2 separate regions of the Homo sapiens genome follow, and region 1 is linked to region 2. Evidence: promoter capture Hi-C in human tissues and cell types (Jung and others, 2019). All regions are on one chromosome and are shown on one strand. Each heading gives the region's core, a stretch centred on a gene start or on the middle of the fragment in contact. The rest is flanking DNA. Distances are from core to core; before and after follow the strand shown.

What was found. Contacts are between HindIII fragments. The study calls those that stand out against the background at their distance.
Region 1: a contact is called between a fragment that was not itself captured here and the fragment with the promoter of RORC in region 2, in 1 of the 25 tissues and cell types used here (IMR-90 fibroblasts).

The regions. Positions count from the first base shown.
Region 1 is chr1:151,987,181-151,990,135 of GRCh38, reverse strand. The region is part of intron 1 of S100A10 (S100 calcium binding protein A10); the gene reads left to right. Among named protein-coding and RNA genes, the nearest start is that of S100A10, 5.2 kb to the left of the region's middle. The HindIII fragment of the contact is 5,250 bases long and covers 1-2,955 here.
Region 2 is chr1:151,830,132-151,833,096 of GRCh38, reverse strand. It overlaps RORC (RAR related orphan receptor C), which reads left to right and starts at 1,295. Exons shown (of 11, transcript NM_005060.4): 1 at 1,295-1,372. The coding sequence starts at 1,333. RefSeq lists an enhancer at 1,987-2,674. The HindIII fragment of the contact is 16,173 bases long and covers 1-2,965 here.

The DNA.
Region 1 (2,955 bases), core at 359-2,858, 160 kb before region 2:
CAAGGCTTTCAGCCTAGTCCTGGGTAATCACACCTGCACCTCAGCTACTGCCCAAGGGATTGTGTGGTTCATTTATGCACATAACAGTTATATAGTGCTCCATGAATAAAAGCAGAATAATTTGTAGTTCTTAATCAAGAGAAGCTTAAATCTCAGGCAGACAAGTAAACAATTAAATGAAATTGAATGTTTCAGGTGCAAGAGTACGTTATTGGGGATAGAGAGGACACTGCAGCCCCTCAGCCCCAGCCCCAAGGCCCTCCTGTCAAAATGTGTCTAACCAGGATGCAGGAAGCCCACATCTGTCCAGGAATAGAGCTTGCAGAGTGGCTACGTGAGGGTGGAAATGCCAGATTGAAGTCCCTGAAGAACTTCAGTTTTGGCAGCTAGCAGTGCTGCAGACAGCCCTGCCCAGGCAAGCCCCACCCAAGAACGGAGGGCCAGGCAGGGCTGACTCAGTTGGGCAACCATTGGCTGCACTCAGACAAGAGTTACATGATTCATCCTCTAGCCAAGAGAACAGAGTTTTAATCACAACATTTCCCCCTTTCCTTTGTCTTATTTTAAAGCCAGTGTGCAACTCCTTCCCCAAAACAGAGTTCCTTGCTGTGGCCCTGGTCAGTGCCCTTTGGGGTACTGGTTGCTGAGGAGACAAGGGCTTCTCCACTGATTTTCAATGCTATTTTCACCTCCTGGCTACTCCCTCCTCTGCATCCTTATTGCAGAAGGCCTACTGGACACACAGGGAGTCAGCTGGCTGCAATATTCACAATCCATCCACTGAATAAAACCGCTGGGGGAGGAGGGGAGGGGAAGACCAAGTGGGAGAAGGATGTAACTTCAGAGAAGGAAGCTCCGTCACTTCGTAATGGCTGTGGGCAAGAGAGGCATGCGACTGAGTGACTTCAGACCTAAGCACTCACACAGTGTGAGGTAGACTCACCTTGCTCTCCTGAAGAAGATACTCAAGGGTGGCCAGGATTTCCTCAGCTGACAACTTGTATTTCTTAGAACCTCCTAAAATTAGCCTTTTTAAAATTTAGAGGTCCTTACCCTGCTGCATTCCCTTTCTTAATTCTGCACTTTCCTTCTGTCCTGTCATCTGAAAAAAGTAAACTAGGTACCCCACCCAGTTCCAATTTCTGGGATCTTTGGGAATTGATCCTGAAGTGCTCTGCTGCTCTGAACTTGAGCACAGGTATTTTTAAACCTCTGTGGTGTCTGACTCCTTTCCTGAGTTATTTAAGAACTGGGGTGGGATCCCACGTCCTTCTCCCAGAGGTGACTCGCCCAGTTCAGTTCTCTTAAATTGCTGGACTTGGAGTACCAGTCCAGGCAAGGCAGACTCTCTGTAAGCCCACTGCCATCTGAAACCCATATGAGGGATGGGGGATGAGCCAGATCTGAGCTGTGTCAGAAGAGAAGGAAAAGGGTGTGGTTCCCCTGGAATTCATCTCACAGCAGACCTTGAAGCATTAATTTGCAGCTCTCTCCAAGATAACTAACTGCCTTTCAGATGACTCATGCCAGATTCTGATTTATAGCATTCTTTGGCCTGCTGGTTCCCATACTTTTCTGGAGATTAAGGGGTAGAATTTACAATTCTTAAGTGTTAATTGCTCAATCCTCATGTTTACCCACTCCACCTTCTCCTCTGTAAAAGATAGCATTTGAGAATCAGTGTTGAACAGGCATCTCTCAGAGATAGGAACCAGACCAAAGCATGTCTCAGGTTCCCATTAGAGCTCTTCAGCAGAGGAATTTGCCAGCCCTTCAATCTAAGCTCAAAGCCTATTCTTGTGATTATTTATTTTTATTTTTTAGTGCTATATTACAGTCTCCATTCACGTTCACCTGTTTCCTATCCAGTAGTGATTTTAGGTGATATTAGCCAAAGCTTATCTGTTCTCGCCAAATGATTCCTTCCAATTAAGCCAAAATTCACTGAGGTTCTATTAAGTACCACGTACTGGGTCTTGTGAGACATATACCCCTAGTTCATTATACCCAAATGTAATGATCTGACATGTTTCCTTTCCTTTCTTATAAACGCTTCATGATGAAAGCTCTTGCTTTCCCACTGTACCCCAGACTGTGAGAGCAGCTCATCTGTCTAATGTCACTAAAAACATAGGAGGCCCTCAAATGAGTTAGGTTATAGTATTACTTGTTGCTTCTCAAGTGAACTAGACAATGGACTTTGAGTAGTTTTCTGTTTGGGTAGAGCAACTGTATTTTACTGCCAGAGATGCAACTGTCTTTATTGCAGTAAATAACAAGTTCAGAGCTTTAGTAAAGAATACATATAGGCCGGGCATAGTGGCTCACGCCTGTAATCCCAGCACTTTGGGAGGCCGAGGTGGGCGGATCACGAGGTCAGGAGATCGAGACCACGGTGAAACCCCATCTCTACTAAAAATACAAAAAAATTAGTCGGGCGCGGTGGCGGGCACCTGTAGTCCCAGCTACTCGGGAGGCTGAGGCAGGAGAATGCCGTGAATCCAGGAAGCGGAGCTTGCAGCGAGCCGAGATGGCGCCACTGCACTCCAGCCTGGGCAACAGAGCAAGACTCCGTCTCAAAAAAAAAAAAAAAAAAAGAATACATATATACCCAGCAGATAAATTCATTTGTAAGCAGATTTCTAAACCCTAGAATCACACTGAACCAAGTTACCACTTTAAGCTTAGAAGGGTGAAGTTTTCGTATTTACCAGACTTGACTGTGTGGATTGTTAGTATCAGCCATATCTAAGAATCCCATTTACTAGTGCCAAGAGAAATTATGAACTATCTGTTCTTTCAGTAGGTGCTTTGTCAGTTAAAAAGAGGAACACTGGGCCGGGCGCAGTGGCCTGTAATCCCAGCACTTTGGGAGGCCGAGGTGGGCGGATCACCTGAAGTCAGGAGTTTGAGACCAGCCTGCTCAACATGGCAAAACTCCGCCTCTACTAAAAA
Region 2 (2,965 bases), core at 46-2,545:
CAAAACTTCCCCTCCTCTTTCTCACTACTCATCCACTGTCAATGACCCTAGGAGTTGAAAAGTCCTTCTCCACTTCTACCTTTATCTCTCAATCTGCAGCCATGGGGAGACTCTGGGAGCTACCTAAGAACAGAGGTGCTGATGGTAGCAGAGTGTGAAGCTCCAGGGTTGGGCAGGAGTGGAGGATGGCGAGACGAGACGGCAGAAGAGGGAAGGGACAGCTGCTTGCCCTCTCCATGCCAGGTGCCACGTGCACCAGGTGGGGGGGAGTGGGCGAGTCACGAGGCTGTGGCATGGCTGACTCCTGCTCTGCTGTTTACCAGCTGGGAACGAGAGCAGGAGGAGGTGCCAGGGAGCCTCTTGCTGCAGCCTGGCCCCTGGCCAGTTGCTTGTTGGGTAACCAGGAGAGTCAGGCCCAGCTAATCAAACTCTGGGCCCAGGCCATGCAGGAGAAAAGCAGCACCAGGATCCCCAGAAGCCTCGTCCTCTTGGCCCCCTTCAGAGCCTTCACTGCAGGCCTCAGTGTGGGCCACTAGGTCTGGGAGCCTCTCCTTCTCCCAATGAGTCCAGTGCAGCATCTCTCCTCTCCTCTTCCCCACCATGGCTTCTCTGCCTCCAGGCACTCCTCCAGGCCTGCCCCTTGCCCCAACAGATGAGGAGCACGTAGAAGCATCAGGGGGTCAGGGAGTCCTGGCAAGAGCAGCAAGGGTTAGGGGCAGGGGCCGAGCAGGCAGAGGCCTCAGGGAACTGAACAGTCACTGGGAGGAGTCTGACTGCATCCTAGAGAAGAGACACAGTCCCCCAAACCTGCCCTCTCCATCTCCCCTATGCCTGTCACCTGTCTTAGGTAGAAATCACAGGATTCTAAAGTCACAAAGACTTGGGTCCAAATCATAGCTCACCCATTTATTGTTCTTGTGTGAGTCCTTGGGCAAAATCATTAATATCTCTGAGAATCCCTCCACTCACTGATCAATCTGGAATAATAATGTTTCCCTGTGGTGGGTGCTGTGAATATTTACACAAAGTAAAAGCATGGATTTACATAAAGTGTCCTGCAAAGGGCCCAGCACACAGTAAGTGATTAATAAATGCTAGTTCCCTTCCTTTCTCCTGTCCTGTTTCTCCTCAAGGCTCCATGCACTGGTCCACTGGTCTCTCCTCATGTCCCCTCCTGGTGCCAGGACACTCTGCCAGCCACTCCTTTTCCCTGCCTGCTGGAGGGCCAGGTGCTCCCGCCTTCCACCCTCCGCCCTCCTCCCTCCCCTGGGCCCTGCTCCCTGCCCTCCTGGGCAGCCAGGGCAGCCAGGACGGCACCAAGGGAGCTGCCCCATGGACAGGGCCCCACAGAGACAGCACCGAGCCTCACGGGGTAAGAGGCCCATGGCCCTGCCTGCAGGTGGAAGAGACTGCTGGAGGTTCAGAGGAGGGCAGAAATGGCAAGAGACTGGGCAAGAAGTGAGGAGGGGAGGGAGGGACAAGAGTGCAGAGGAGAAAGCCCTGGGTTGGCAGGGAGTGAAACTGGAGGAGAAACAGGAGGAGGGGCTGGGGAGATGACAGAGGAGAAGAAATCGCAAAAGGAGAGAAACAGGAAAGAAAGGGAGAAGCGGGAGAAGGAAGAAACAGGTTGGAGGGTAGATGGGGAGGGAAGAGCCAAGTCAGGGGAGCCAGATCTAGACCCAGCGAGGGGTCAGAATGTGGACAGGCCCTCCCAGGTGTGGGCTTACCCCCCAGGAGGCACAGGGACACTGCTTCCTTGATCTGGCCAGGACCCCAGACAGCAGTGGCCGGGAGGCTGGCTGCTCCACCTTCTGTTCATTCACCAGTGGAGAAACCTGTCCTTTAAGGAGTGACAGACTTGGGGAGTGTGGCAGGGGGAACCACACCCTGTCAGCTGCCCATGACCACGTAGCCTGGTCCTTTCCTCGCCACTCACCCAGGGATGTGGGATTTCATCTCTGCAGAGAATGTGGGGCACTGGGCCATCAGCAGGGAAGGACAGAATGTCAGGCCGTCCTTGGCCCCACCCATGGTCCAAGTCAGGAACCCCCTCAGAGCAGGATCGCAGGGCCACAGGCTTGGTCAGCTGTGAGCATGGAGGAGGAAAGTTTGAGGGCCAGAGCCACCAAGCTCCAGGGCCACCTGGTGGAGGAAGAACTGGCTGCCTGGGTGAGCAAGGGGAGCACCCCCACCACAGGACTGCTCTGAGGTGCAAGGCTAGAGGCCAGGAGCCGGTGCCACGTCAGGGAGGAAGCTGGGTGGGGCCAGGCAGGAGCAAGGGGAGGTGGGCGGGGCTGGGTGGGGCCTTGCCACCTCGGGGCAGTCTTTTCTCCTCCCTCACCCCAGCAGAGCCCAGGCCATCAGGCCACTCGCCTCCACACAGCCTAGTGACCACGGCCTGCCAGTGGGGAGCATCTCCCGGGCAGAAGGGCACTGTGTGTGTGTGTGTGTGTGTGTGTGTGTGTGTGTGTGTGTATGTCAGGTGTCAAGACTGAACAGCAGAAGGAAAAAAATAACAGAATAGAGTCAGAGGTTAGGGAAGCTATAGGGGGTATAGGGCATGGTTGAAGGGCTTTCTGAGACAAAAGACTGGCCATGTGTTCTGTGATGAGCTGCTATGTGGATGTAGGAAATGGGCCAAGGTCTGGCAGGGGAATCCTCTTTCCAGGGGCTCCCTGGCTAGGTGTTTCATAGATGTTAACTGCATGAATGGGTGACACCCCCCCACCCACCAACCATGCTCCAGCTAAGGCCCTCCCCTCAACGGCTGCTCCCCCTGGAGGTCCGAGTATCCATGTGACCCCCATCGACCCACTCATGCTCCCTACTGCCCAATCTCCACCCAGACCCGGCCACGCAGCAGCAGCAGAGAAGGGAGGCCTTCCTCTTCAGGCTGGTAGGCCAGGGAAGCCTGGCCCGTGGAAGCCAGAGAGGGGTCTGTATTTGCAACTCTCCCCTCCTCTTC